2 separate regions of the Homo sapiens genome follow, and region 1 is linked to region 2. Evidence: promoter capture Hi-C in 16 types of primary human blood cells and fetal thymus (Javierre and others, 2016). All regions are on one chromosome and are shown on one strand. The core of a region is centred on a gene start or on the middle of the fragment in contact, and the rest is flanking DNA. Distances in the headings are between cores, read along the strand shown. Region 1 overlaps FAM217B (family with sequence similarity 217 member B). Region 2 holds the start of AURKA (aurora kinase A).

What was found. Contacts are between HindIII fragments. The CHiCAGO score rates a contact against its expected background, and 5 or more counts as called.
Region 1: a contact is called between a fragment that was not itself captured here and the fragment with the promoter of AURKA in region 2, in 4 of 17 cell types (non-activated CD4 T cells, M0 macrophages, total CD8 T cells and 1 more). The highest score is 12.6, in non-activated CD4 T cells.

What each region holds. Positions count from the first base shown.
Region 1 is chr20:59,941,267-59,948,331 of GRCh38, forward strand. FAM217B (family with sequence similarity 217 member B) reads left to right here. Exons shown (of 4, transcript NM_022106.3): 2 at 932-1,043; 3 at 1,161-1,246; 4 at 2,674-7,065. The coding sequence starts at 2,678. The coding sequence ends at 3,829. Among named protein-coding and RNA genes, the nearest start is that of FAM217B, 4.4 kb to the left of the region's middle. The HindIII fragment of the contact is 1,321 bases long and covers 2,106-3,426 here.
Region 2 is chr20:56,386,826-56,393,464 of GRCh38, forward strand. AURKA (aurora kinase A) reads right to left here and starts at 5,390. Exons shown (of 9, transcript NM_198437.3): 1 at 5,343-5,390; 2 at 1,331-1,377. The coding sequence starts at 1,372. CSTF1 (cleavage stimulation factor subunit 1) reads left to right here and starts at 5,820. Exons shown (of 6, transcript NM_001324.3): 1 at 5,820-5,888. RefSeq lists enhancers at 1-460, 5,536-5,775. The HindIII fragment of the contact is 5,454 bases long and covers 204-5,657 here.

The sequences.
Region 1 (7,065 bases), core at 1,516-4,015, 3.6 Mb after region 2:
AGAAAGAAAACCAGACTAATGAAAGGGGGTTGATTCAAGAACATTCGTTGCATCTAAAATGAGTCAAGGCTGTTGATTGTGGTATAATTCATGAAATGTGAGAGAATGATTTTATTTATCATTGGATGTAAGCTAACTAAAAAGGCTTACATGATTAATGTGGGAAAAATACAGGAAAGTTTCAGGAAGAAAATAAAAATCTTCTATAATCATCTCTTTTATTTTACAGAGACAGGTGATACGGGAAAGAGAAGTATCCAATTTCCATTCAGTGCACTTTTAATAGGCCACTCAAAATGAGAGGGGAATAACAGCAATATGTGGTATAGGTCAACAATGCTTCATAAAGAGATGATATATAATATGTAATATGTATGAATATATGGAAAGTCTTATAATGGATTGATGTGATAGAGAAGGCCGAAAAATTGAATGGGAACGTTCCTCCTAGAGTTTAAGCTCCTTCTGAACAGGGACGTGCATAATCATTGCCATTTTTCTGGGTACTCCTGTAATTATTTGTTGCATGAATGAATGATTGGGCAATGCAATGATTGAACGCTGTAATAAGACCTGACCTTATTTAGCCTTCCAGATTTCTTCAACATATTATTTCCAAGGAAGATTATACCTGTGTGTGAACAGGGAGAGAGAGAGAGAGATGGAATCCATTCACAGTATTTATAGTAGTGTGATCCTGTGATCCTGTCTCTAATATCTACTGTAATAAGCAGAAAAGACAAAGCTGTAAGCATAAGACAATGTCTCCCTTCCCCAGTATTTCATAACCTAGAGTGCAAACCACTATATGATCACAGCCTTAATATTTCAATATTATACAAGTATTAAAAAACAAGTGAAAAACCAACCCGATACTGGTGGTAGGACCATTTGCAATCAATAGTTACTGACAGTATTCTGTTGCTTCTAGTTCCGGTGGTGAGGAGACCTTTCCAAATATAAGAGGAATAAAGAAGTCACCTCCCCAGCTGTCATCATCTTCCAGCAGATTGAGCAAGAATATTTTGAGCACTACAGGAAAGGTAATGTAAACTTAGAAGAAAAATCTGACTTAGATTTATTCTGGGATTTTTGTTTGTTTGCTTGCTTGTTTCTTGTGTACATGTTCACAGTGTTTATTACTGCATCCCTGTTTTTAGACAGTCCATCAAACCCGAGATGATGATCAGCCACGTGATTTTTTCAAGAAGAGGAATAGGGTGAATGAATCTCATCAGAAAAGCAGGTAAATAGTTTTAGTATAATTGCTTTATCTTGCAAAAGACTCATTATCTCTGTTGTCCAGATTGAATATGTGGAGTGGGGAAAAAAGTATGTCTATAGATAAGAAATATACATTTATAATTTTTTTCTAGCAGAAATGAATAGAAAAGTGGTTTAAGCATAATAGTGGATAAGGATTCCAACGGTCATAATTCTGGCAGTTGTTAGCAGAATTATAATTTTGAGTAAGTCCTTTAATCACTTTTCTATGTTAGTTTCCTTTTATATAAAAGGATAGTGACAATAATTAATTTTTATGGATGCATACTGACAGGCAGGAACAAAATGTTTTAACAGTGTTATGAATTCTGAATAATGGAGATTCCTTCATTTCTTCATTTATTCAACATTTATTGAGCACACGTTGTACTATTGGCAATGATTTAATGTCCTGCATATTTATTAATTAAAATGTAGCACGTATTCAAATAGTTGCTTAGGTTGTTTGAAACCACTGGGCAAATGAACCTCTGAAGTTTCCAGAAAGCATGTTTACCACCCATTTCTATTCATTCTATCTGACTTATATTACAGAGAAGTATTATTAATCTTAAATGCCACGTTCTTGGTAAATAAATTGAAAAGAGGATATTTTCAACTCTGATGTGAGATTCAGCATCAGAATAAATTATGCCAGAGAGAATTAGTTTCTATACTCATAATGCACACAGTATTCATTATTCCCTTTACCTGCTATTCACAAGGTAACACTAAGACCCTGTGTTTTCATTCATATGTGTTACAGGGCACCATATGATTTTATTTCTGTTCTTTAAACACAATTTTCCCAAATGTGTTTTCTGTTTGAAAACATTGTAACAAGCTTTTGATTTAAGGTACAGGTTTGTATGTGCAATACTTTTATATATTAAAATTTCACTCAGCTCAGAATCGCCACCAATCAGTGATTAAACTGCAAAACTTGCATGTTTATTTGATATTTACACTTAATTTAAAATAGGTGTATAAAATAAAACTGTTTTTACTTCTGAATGTTATTAAATGCTTTTGATGGTAACAATTCCAGAGTTCTACGACTGATTTTTTCCAAACTAATGTTTTTTTTTTAAAGTACACACGAAAGTATGAAACAAGCACTTTGAGAAATGTTAATGTTTTTCCTAAATGCTAATATTTGATATAAAATGGAAACTGTGCATTCTCTTTTGTCACATGCATTATATAATGTATCTCAAATAGAGTATTATATGGGAAAATGTTCTGTAAAATTACTTATGCTTTAAGGAGTTTGGAAGCTGACATTTTCTAATGCCTACTAATAGCTGAGACAAAAAAAAGTACAACTAGAAGATTCTTTTTGTTTGTTTAATTATAGCCAGACCATTTTTTGTCATATGTGGTAAGAATTGCAGTTTTATTTTCTCACAGCAATATGAATGCTGGCCCATCTTGGAATAAAGTGCAACATTCAAAGAATTCTTCAGGAAAAAGGCAGAGTAAATCCCAAGTACCCCACGCTTCTTCCCAGCCGAGAAGCAGCCTCACAGCTGTCACCCAGCCTACTGAAGAAAAACTTAAAGAAAGCATTTCCCCGGAAGCAAGACGCAAAAGGAATCCACTCGGTTCCAGGTGTCAGGGGGCCTCAGGGAATAAACTGTTTCTTGATTTTCAGTCAATGAAAATTATTAAAGAGAATGCTGATGAGGACAGTGCAAGTGATCTCTCTGATTCGGAAAGAATTCCCATTCCTCCTTCTCCCCTCACACCTCCAGATCTCAATCTTCGAGCTGAAGAAATTGATCCAGTTTACTTTGATCTTCACCCTGGTCAGGGCCATACAAAACCTGAATACTATTATCCTAATTTCCTTCCATCCCCTTTCAGCTCCTGGGACCTACGAGATATGGCCCTGCTTCTGAACGCAGAGAACAAAACGGAAGCCGTGCCCCGAGTGGGAGGACTTCTTGGGAAGTATATCGATAGACTTATTCAGCTTGAGTGGCTGCAAGTCCAGACTGTACAGTGTGAAAAAGCAAAGGGGGGCAAAGCAAGGCCCCCCACTGCCCCTGGGACCTCAGGGGCACTGAAAAGCCCTGGGAGAAGTAAGCTAATTGCTAGTGCTCTGTCCAAGCCACTACCTCACCAGGAAGGGGCTTCAAAGTCAGGCCCTTCCCGAAAGAAAGCTTTTCACCATGAAGAAATCCACCCATCACATTATGCATTTGAGACTTCCCCTAGACCCATTGATGTGCTTGGTGGTACCAGGTTTTGTTCTCAGAGGCAAACCCTTGAAATGAGGACAGAAGAAAAGAAAAAGAAATCAAGTAAGAGTACGAAGCTGCAGCGCTGGGATCTGTCCGGCAGTGGAAGCAGCTCTAAGGTGGAAACCAGCGGTCACATTCGAGTTCCCAAACAGGCAGCTGTGATTCTGGACTCAGCAGATTCCTGTAAGGCCTCCAAAACACAAGCACATGCACATCCTAGGAAAAAGGGAAAGGCAGAGAGCTGTGGTCATGCCACTGTATCGAGTGAGAAAAAACTGAAAACAAACGGAGTAAAGCAAAACACATATAAACTAAAATAAATATCTAAAATGCTGAATTGCCAAGACCTGCAGGTACCTCAATGTTAGAGCGCTTCCAAAAGTCAAAATACTGTGAATTTTAAGGAATTTTACAAATACTGACATTTAAGTAGTTGACTGGCATTTTTGTCCACCTTTATTTCTACCCTGAGTGGGGTTATTTTCAAAGGGAAGTGTCTTTCAATAAGCCTTTCTTTGTATTGTCAGTCTTAGGCAAATGAGAGCCCTTTAGATAAAAATTATGTAAAATATGTGCCATATAAAGGAATAAAATGGCACCTCTCCAGGGAAAGTGTCAGTGAAACCTCAGCTACAGTAGCCGGTCTGTGTAGAGCAGCTAGTGGTGTTACCTCCCCATTTTCACATGCACGTAAGTATATGAAATAGTGCAGACTGTTTCAAATGGTGTGGAATCCTAAATGTTTAAAATAAGGTCCTTCTTGCCCACTCCCTCGCTTACTTTTTTATAAACTCCTCAAGCAAAATTTCTGTTCATTTTACCCTTAGGAGAAGCTTTAGTTCTTCCTCAAGTCAGGGAGTAGTGAGTTTGTATTTTGAGTAGTCATTTCTCACTAAGCTGGTTGCTTTCTAGAGAGACAGTGGAATCTAGTACTTTAATACATTTTCTCTGACATGGTTTTTTTTTTCTTTTTTGAGGGGCATTTTAAACTTAGAGGTGGTGGTAAAACCTACTTTTGAGTTCTCCGAACTGAGGTTAAAATAACTTGCAGAATTTTCCAAAGTCAATGGGCTTAGCATGATTACTGCTGTTTGGTGGGGCTGAGAATGAAATATTTGACATTCTGGAATTGCTGGCATGTAAAGCTTCTCCAGAGAGGCACCCCAGGGAAATCACTCTTTACAATTTGTAAAGGAAGGGCCTGTAAAAGGATCAAAACACATGGACCTACATTCAGTGTAATAGTTACAAAGTTACTGATTTGGGTTCCACACCCTGTGGTCCTTAGTCAAAAATAATGATCTGTTTCAGTTTGCAAGAGCAGGATTTTATTATTTTGCTTGGGGTGAGGGGCGGGAGAGTGGAATATGAGTAAGGTTGCTGAATGAATTCTAAACTCGCTTATCTGGTCTTCAGGCTTCCCAACTCTCTCCAAGCCTTCTTATTTCACTGCAGTTAAATAACATCTTCTTGTTCCTATAGTTGTGCTGTGAGTTTTCTGTTCATATTTGCGCAGTGTATTTTAATACGGCCCATGTCATTATAGTTGATTTTATCCCTTTAAACAATTACTGTATTTGTTTTTGACGTAGAGGTTTCAATTTTTTCACCTTGGGGGCAAATGAAAAACTTGGCATTTTTCATTTGGGAACATATAATAGCTTGTAAACTTTTCAGACAGCAGTAAATGTCTGAAAAAATATCAAAAACAGCATAAAGACAAGATTATGTAGCTCTAATTATACGTATATAATTATAAAAAACAATGTGCAAGGGTTATATTTTAAGGTCTTTTAAAATCTGATTTTGATCATACCAAATGACATAATATTTTTTATGGTAGCCTTTTACTTTCAAGACTTAATTTTCAGACTTGTACAAGTTCCTTCTTACATTCTTTCCCTCTCACACCATCCTACTGGAGAAAGCATACTTTTATGCTAAGATCTTACTTTAAGCTTTTTATGTGAACAAAAGATGTACATATAGTAAGTATTACTTCCGTAGTCCTCAAATTTACTATAACTTTTGTACTTAGTATATGTTTTATATTTGGAAAACAGCACTACGCTTAGTTTTCCTGTAGTTCCTGAGTGATGTCTGTGTGTTCCTTGCCTGCCCTTTTTTGTGAGCACAGATTAGTCTGTTATCCATGGCTGGCACTTCACTTATGATCCTTTCTCTGCTAGATTTTTATGCAGCTCTCTATGAAGTTTCATGGCCCATAGATATTCAAAAGCAAGATATTCTATACATATGTGTATATGTATATATACTCCTTATGTTAATACTAAAGTGTTTATGCTGAGTTGCTGCCTTTCCCCGTCATGTATCCATGTGCATGCTCTTAGAGACCTTGAATGGTTGAGGGTAAAGTGATTTATTAGTAATTCTACTTGCCTTGTGTATGTCTGAGCTGAAAACAATCGTGATTAAGAAATTTAGAGGTGGCTGGGCGTGGTGGCTCACGCCTGTAATCCCAGCACTTTGGGAGGCCGAGGCAGGCGGATCACCTGAGGTCGGGAGTTCAAGACCAGCCTGACCAACATGGAGAAACCCTGTCTCCACTAAAAATACAAAATTAGCCGGGTGTGGTGGTGCATGCCTGTAATCCCAGCTACTCGGAAGTTTGAGACGAGAATCTCTTGAACCCGGGAGGCGGAGGTTGTGGTGAGCCAAGATCGTGCCATTGCACTCCAGCCTGGGCAACAAGAGGGAAACTCCGTTTCAAAAAAAAAAGAAAAAGAAAGAAATTGAGAAGTAACGCCTCATAATATTTGTTCCCAGCTTTTTAAATTGAAGCTGGTTGCATAATCTGGGGAATAGTCATAATTTCATGTGTTATACAGTTTAAAAAGCCTGCAAAAGTGACTTTGCTTGTTTACTTTCTGCCTCAGATTGACTATTTTAACCAATATTGTCACGACTAGATCATAGCTCCTAGTGAATAACATGAGGTGTTTTAAAGTTAGGTCTATTACAGAATTAACATAAGCACAATTTTAATTTTATGATATCTGATATGCCTATCTAATACATCTTAATGCATTAAATGCTGCAGATAAGAATCTTGCTATTTTTCAAGTAGACAACATTAGAAAGTTGAATCATGAACTCATTCAATTCATCAAGTCAAAAGCACTGAGTGTTTTGCTAGTCTAGTGACATGGGTTATTGTATTTCCGAGAAGTGCCTCTCATTTCTGGGGAGTTGTTTACATATACCCTGCATTTAAACCAATTAAAACAATCCAAGTTTCTTTAAAAAAAAAAAGAAAAAGAAAAAGAAAAAGAAAAATATTTTAGGCTTAGAATTATCTAATGGAAAAAATGTAAAAAAGTACAAAAATGAACTAAAAGTATATCAGTATTTGCAGTATTTGCTGTGATTACTTAGGTTTAGACTTTCTCAACTTCTTAGATGACTAAATGGGCTGAAGACTTGTAACTAACTTGAATAGGATAGACTTCATACCCTGTGACAAAAAGGATGGGGAAGAGAATATCATTGGTCTTGCCATATACCTCCTAGCTAAAAGGAAAATGGTTTGTAGTTG
Region 2 (6,639 bases), core at 4,140-6,639:
AAATAGACACTACATTGCTATTTGGCAAAAAGCTATGATACAAAAACTTTATGCCAAAATCTCAGTTCCATTGAAATTTCTTTGATAATATACGTTTAAGAAAAAGACCAAAAAAAAATACGTCAAAACGTTCAACAGTGGTATTATCTTCATGAAGTTTTAGAAGAGTCTAAGTTTTCATATATCGAAGATTTTCCACAATAAGCTTATTACTGTACTATTGATTAACCAATGTTTCATTTTCCAAGTATTGACAAAATGGAATTGAGCAAAAAACTGACAAAGAGGAAACAAATGTAGACACTTCACAAAGTTACTACTAAAATGTATTATTATTATTATTTTTGAGATGGAGTCTTGCTCTGTCACCCAGACTGGAGTGCAGTGGCATGATCTCGGCTCACTGCAACCTCTGCCTCCCAGGTTCAAGCAATTCTCTGCCTCAGCCTCCCAAGCAGCTGGGACGACAGGCGCCTGCCACCACGCCTGGCTAATTTTTTGTATTTTTAGTAGAAACAGGGTTTCACCATCTTGGCCAGGCCGGTCTTGAACTCCTGACCTTGTGATCCACTCTCCTTGGTCTCCCAAAGTGCTGGGATTACAGGCGTGAGCCACCGCGCCCAGCCTTGAAATGTATTATTTATACGCCTGTAAGTACTGTATTACAACCTTAAATTGTTAAGTTAACTCTAACACCCTCAGCTAATCAAACTAAAAGGGGTAGGAGGGATGAGATTTCCTTCAGCTTCAACAGCTCATTGTAAGTGAGGGACAAGTGCTAGAAATGAAAGCCTCAAAGTCCATCCCCAGCTCAACGGTATGAGTGCTCTACAAAGAGAGGGTGTTAAGACTTCCAAATACAAAGTCAGTTACTCCTGAAATTAGCACACTGTCCACAACGCAGCAGGCATTCAGACAAAGACAAATAAAAAGAAACATTTTAAATATAGAGCAATTTTTTAAATGGCCGTTATCATAGGAACTTAGAATCAAATACAGTAATTCAAGGTAGCCTTTTTCTAATTATTTTATATTTATGGCCAATTTTAAAAGTTTTGAACTCCTGCCAGATGCATTATTACTATTATCCTGCATACAGTGGAGGGATATAGAAACTTAAGCAGCCGATTATAAGACAAAGCAGAACAAAAAAGCTACTCTAAGAAGCAGCAAAATGTTACTGAACACGAGAAAAGTGACTAATTCATATCCAGGATCACAGTAAGGGATCTAAATTTAAATCCAAAGTAAAGGCGGAAAGAATTCCCGACAAGACCAACCTCCATGTGGGTTTATAAATGTGAATGAGATTACAGATTATTCAATTTACCTTAACAGGTCCTGAAATGCAGTTTTCTTTAGATCGGTCCATGATGCCTGAAAAGAAAAAGAAGAACCTTTAATTTGAACAAAGCCACCTGCTTAAAGTGCTGTTGCTCGATAGGCAGCGTTACAGTTCCCCAATCAAAAGGCCTCCACAACACACCGGATTTTACATGTTTTGTCCAAATGAAGCTAATGAGGGAGGGACAGGCATGTGCTTTCCCTGCAAGGCCAACCTCCCCTTGGGCACTGCGTCCCATCCTCTGTCACGGAGTCTTCACTCCTGATGGTCTTGCTGCTCCATCATCTCTCCTCTAATGGATCACTTCCATCCCTGTGCAGCCTACTGGCATACCTGCTACCTTAAAAAAGTCCTCTTTAGGCCGGGCATGGTGGCTTACACCTGTAATCCCAGCATTTTGGGAGGCCGAGGTGGGCGGATCACCTGAGGTCAAGAGTTCGAGACCAGCCTGGCCAACATGGTGAAACCCCGTCTCTACTAAAAATACAAAACTTAGCTGAGCGTGGTGGCAGTCACCTGTAATCCCAGCTACTCGGGAGGCTGAGGCAGGAGAATCACTTAAACCCAGGAAGCAGAGGTTGCAGTGAGCTGAGATCACACCATTGCACTCCAGCCTATGGGAAAAGAGCGAGACTTCGTCTCAAAACAATAAAATAAAATAAAAGTCCTCTTTATTCTATTATCGTTGCTAACAATGACCCCCTCCTCTCCAACAGCAAAGCTCCAGAAGAACCGTCCACACTTGCCACCTCTACTGCTCCTCTCCCCTCCCCTGAGCCCATCCCCACCTGGCTTTTTTGTCTCCACCACATTGTCAGGCTCATGGCTGACACCTACTGCTGCCAAACCCAAGGGTCAATTCCACCTTCCCCGTACTTGCATCCTCAGCAGAATCTGACAAGGTTGATCACATCTTACACTTTTTTCTTCACTTCACTTCCAGGTTTATCTACCACCTAGTCGTCCTGTCTTTCCCTCCTTGCTGGGTCAGTCTCATTTTTGCCAGATCAAGGGTCTGGGGTGACTCAAGAACGAGTCCCTGGACCCTCCACTTCTCCATCTACACCTTCACCAGGGATCCATATCACCCAGTGCCTCAGCTCTAAATGCCTTCATGAGGACCACTCAAAGTGCGTCTTCTGCCCTAGTCTCTCCTTGGACTGTCAGACTTGGATATCCAAGGATTTGCCCAGGATCTCCCAAAAATGTCTGCCAGGCACCTCAATCCTAACATATCCAAAACTGAACCTCTTCCCTTCTCCACTTCTCACCTCCCTGTTCATGGGTGTGCCCTGAGCTCAGGCCTAGAATGACTTCTCCATCTCCAATTACTCCCTAGCCGAGTACATCCAGTCTCTTTGCTTTCAGTACCATCTACAGGCTGAGGACTCCCAAATATTCATTCTTCAGCCCAGACCTCTCCCCTGAACTCTTGATCTACATTTTCTACTTTCTATGCAACATCTGCACCTGATTATCTGAGCGGCATCTCCATTCTAACATGTCCCAAACAGAAGTCCTAATCTCTCCCCACTCTCACCTCCCCAAATCTAGTCTCTAGACATCCTCATCTCAGTGCATGGCAAACCCATCCTGTCAGTTGCTCAGGCCAAAAGCCTTGGCATAATAACCCTTTACGAGGTTCTCTCTCGCAAACCCTTCATTTAATCCACCAGCATATTCTGTAGGCTCTGCCTTCAAGATCACTGCTCACCACCTCTACTACTACCACCTGGTCAAACCATTATTCTCTCTCCCTTGAGTTTTTTCCAACAGCCTCCCAATGGCCTCCCCACTTCCACCCTTACCCTGTCATGGTCCATTCTTAACACTGAGGCCGGCAATCTCATTAACAAATCAGATGTGTTGATCCTCAGTTCAGAAGACCCCCATGGCTCCCAACTCAATCAAAACAATGCAAACTCCTAACCTGCATAGACAGGCCTATTGAAGTCTCACAGAACATGGACCCTAACTACCTCTCTGACTTCATCTCCTCTTCTTGTCAACCGTGTACCAGCCACACAAGGCTTTCTTTCTGCAAATAAGTCCCCTGCCATAAGCATTTGCACTTCTTGCTCCCTTTATTACGCTTTTCCCCCAGGTGTGTAGTTCAGTCTTTCATTTCACTGAGGTTTCTTTTTTTTTTTTTTTGAGATAGAGTTTGCTCTTGTTGCCCAGGCTGGAGTGCAATGGCGCAATCTCGGCTCACCCGCAACCTCCACCTCCTGGGTTCAAGCAATTCTCCTGCCTCAGCCTCCAGAGTAGCTGGGATTACAGACATGCACCACCACGCCCAGCTGATTTTGTATTTTTAGTAGAGACAGGGTTTCTCTATGTTGGTAGGGCTGGTCTGGAACTCCCGACCTCAGGTGATCCACCCACCTCGGCCTCCGAAAATGCTGGGATTACGGGCATGAGCCACCGCGCCCGGCCTTCACTGAAGTTTCTTATCAAATATCCCCGCACTCTGGCCTGGGCAATGGAGTGAGACCCTGTCTCAAAAAAAAAAATTAAGATTACCATTTTACAATTAAGCAAATAATTCCATGATGAAGCCAGGCCCAGACTACAGGCTGCAGCCCTTATAAAAAAACAGTGGGTAAGTAAAAGTTGATAAACAGCAACAAGGAAATGCACACTTGTGTTAATCAAATATTTAATTTCACACATGCTCTAATGCTTTACTTCCCTTACAATTCTAAGTAGCAGTCTAATGAGATCACATAGGCCTAACAACATTTATTCAACATTCTTCTGACAGAAGCTACAGGCATTTGCTCCAATTTATTCTACCTTTCTTTCTAGGGAAATTGAATAACAAGCAGAATGGAATAAGATTCTAATCCAGAATTCTGGAGACAACGCCAAGGAGACTGCCCTTCAGGTGACTCTAATCTGCAACCAGATTGAAGAACCAGATGACTTTCACAGGATCCATTCAGTTCAAACCAGAAGTCCTACTATTTTGAATAGAAAAGCTGTTAGGCTAATAGCGCAGGAGGTTTATACGGTTTATTCCTTCCTCCCTCAGACCTGTGCATGTCTGCAGAGATGAAGGGAAGGACGAACTGAGTAGGTTGCTGAAAAACGTTTAATTCAAGGGACAAGGAAGGTTACGGAAGAGGAAGAGACATTACGAGAGTTAAGGACAGTGGCTACGTCTACCTCAGCCGGATGGTTCTTAGAAATGGAGACTCTGAGGCCTAACCCCAGGTCTAAAAAAACAGATTCTGCATTTTAACGTCCCCAGACGATTTGTATGCACCGGTCTGCATCCCTAGTTCTCAATGAAACCTAAGAATCATCTGGAGAGTTTGTTAATAACTAGACACCTGGGTCCTACCCCTCAGAGATTCTGATTTACCGGGCTCTCGGTGGAGCTATATGTTTAACAAGCACTGCAAGTTATCCCGGTACAACTGCTCCAAGGTCTACGGTCTGAGAAGTACGGACCGGGAAGGCCTCTGCAAGGAGGTTCTCATTCATCAATTCACCCACTCATCCAGCCAGGACAAGGGCCTTCTTAGGCTATTCTATCTAAAGCGGCCCCCGTTAAACCGCACTCCTGCTTTTCCTCTGTAACACCCACCCCAGCTGCAAGTTCTCCGTACGCTTACCGTCTGTCTCCCCACCCACTAGAACGTGAACTCCAACACAGCAGAGACCTTCTGTGCTTTTCTTACCCAGGTGATCTCGGAGGACAAAATCCAATCTGAAGCCCACCCACCCCTCCCGCGCATGTCAACACCACTCAACAAACCCCTTGTACCTCTAGCTGTAATAAGTAACAAGCAGTATCCTACAGGGCGCCTCGGTGCCCAGGAGCGGATGCAAAGGCGCTGGGCGGGCACAAGGCAGCGCCAAGGACACTCAGGGACGGAGGAACCGACAGGGGACTTGACGCTCCGCCACTCCGACCAGCCGCCCCTTGTCCCCGCCGTCCTCGTCCGCCACTGAGATATCCCCCACGGTCTACCCACCCGTCGGCTCCCACCTGCGACCCAAGGACCCAAGTCTTCCAAGAGCTCAGCCGTTAGAATTCAAAGGTTCTTCTTTTTAAATAGGAGTTAAACCCTCTAGCTAGAAAGCCGATTGGCCTGCGCTCGAGCGAGGCTGCCTTGTGATTGGTTGACAACAAACCCGACGCCTTGAGTCGCGTTTAAGGGCGCACACCGCGCGCAGGCGCACTTGCTCCCTAAGAACCCGGAAGTGGTGGAGCCAACGGCCAGCCAGACCTGTGGCAGTCCCAGCCCCAGGGTGCTCTCCGCGGTCGGCCATTTATCGGTGAAGCAACAGCCCCTTGACGTCAAGCTTGACGCATTGGAGATAAAGTCCAAGGAGGTGAACTAACCTTTGAACGTGCCAGTAAGTAAGATGGCGAGAAAAGCAAGAGAGAGTGGGACCGATCGATAGCGCAGCGGTCGGCTTGGCGCCCTTTCAGCGTGCGCAGTGAACGTGCGCTCGGAGCGGTAGATTGGGCAGGATTCGCGCCTCCATTTTTCCAGGAGAGAGCGGGATACCAAGAGAACCGGACCAGCTGGTACTGGGACACGGGGAGAGTAGCTGGTGCGGTCGGCTGGGGCATTTAGAGAAAACCACAGAAACGACTGGGGCGAGACTGGAAGAGTCGAGAGTTAGCAAGGTGGCATGCGCCTCTACTTTGCGTTTCCTAAGTTGCCCGGCTTGGCCTGCACCCCTTCCTCTTCTCGAAGGGCCTCGCTTCCATTCCCACCCAGTCCTTAGTTCGCCTCTGCATCCAGATGGTCGCGGCGCATATAGTGAGGGGGCATCTGTGTTCTAGCCTTTCCAACTGCGATGTATCCGGTCCTGGATCGGGTTCTTGTCCTCGTGTGCTCACCTGCAAATTGGGGATAATTAGGCTTCTGTTTACCTGGCGAGTGAACGTTCTGTGGGAGTTGAGAAGTTAGGGGTGGGCCACTTAAAATATATATATATATACACACACACACACATATACATATATATACACACACATATGTGTGTGTGTGTGTGTGTATGTACACCCGGGATGTGCTCAGCAGAAGTGAAGAGACCGGATAGAACAGTGGTGTAGGGGAACCAAAAATGGCTTCCCTCCATCCTTCCAGGTACCTTATTAGGACTAAGAGTTAAATTCACATAAGACGAATTAACAGATTACTGCAGGGTAAACAGGATGTGCATGTAAAGCATTGAGCTAGCATACGGAAATTATTCGAGTCATATTAACCCAACGTTAACAGTAGAATCTCTCATCAACTTTTCTTTGCCAGACTACCCACTTGTGATTT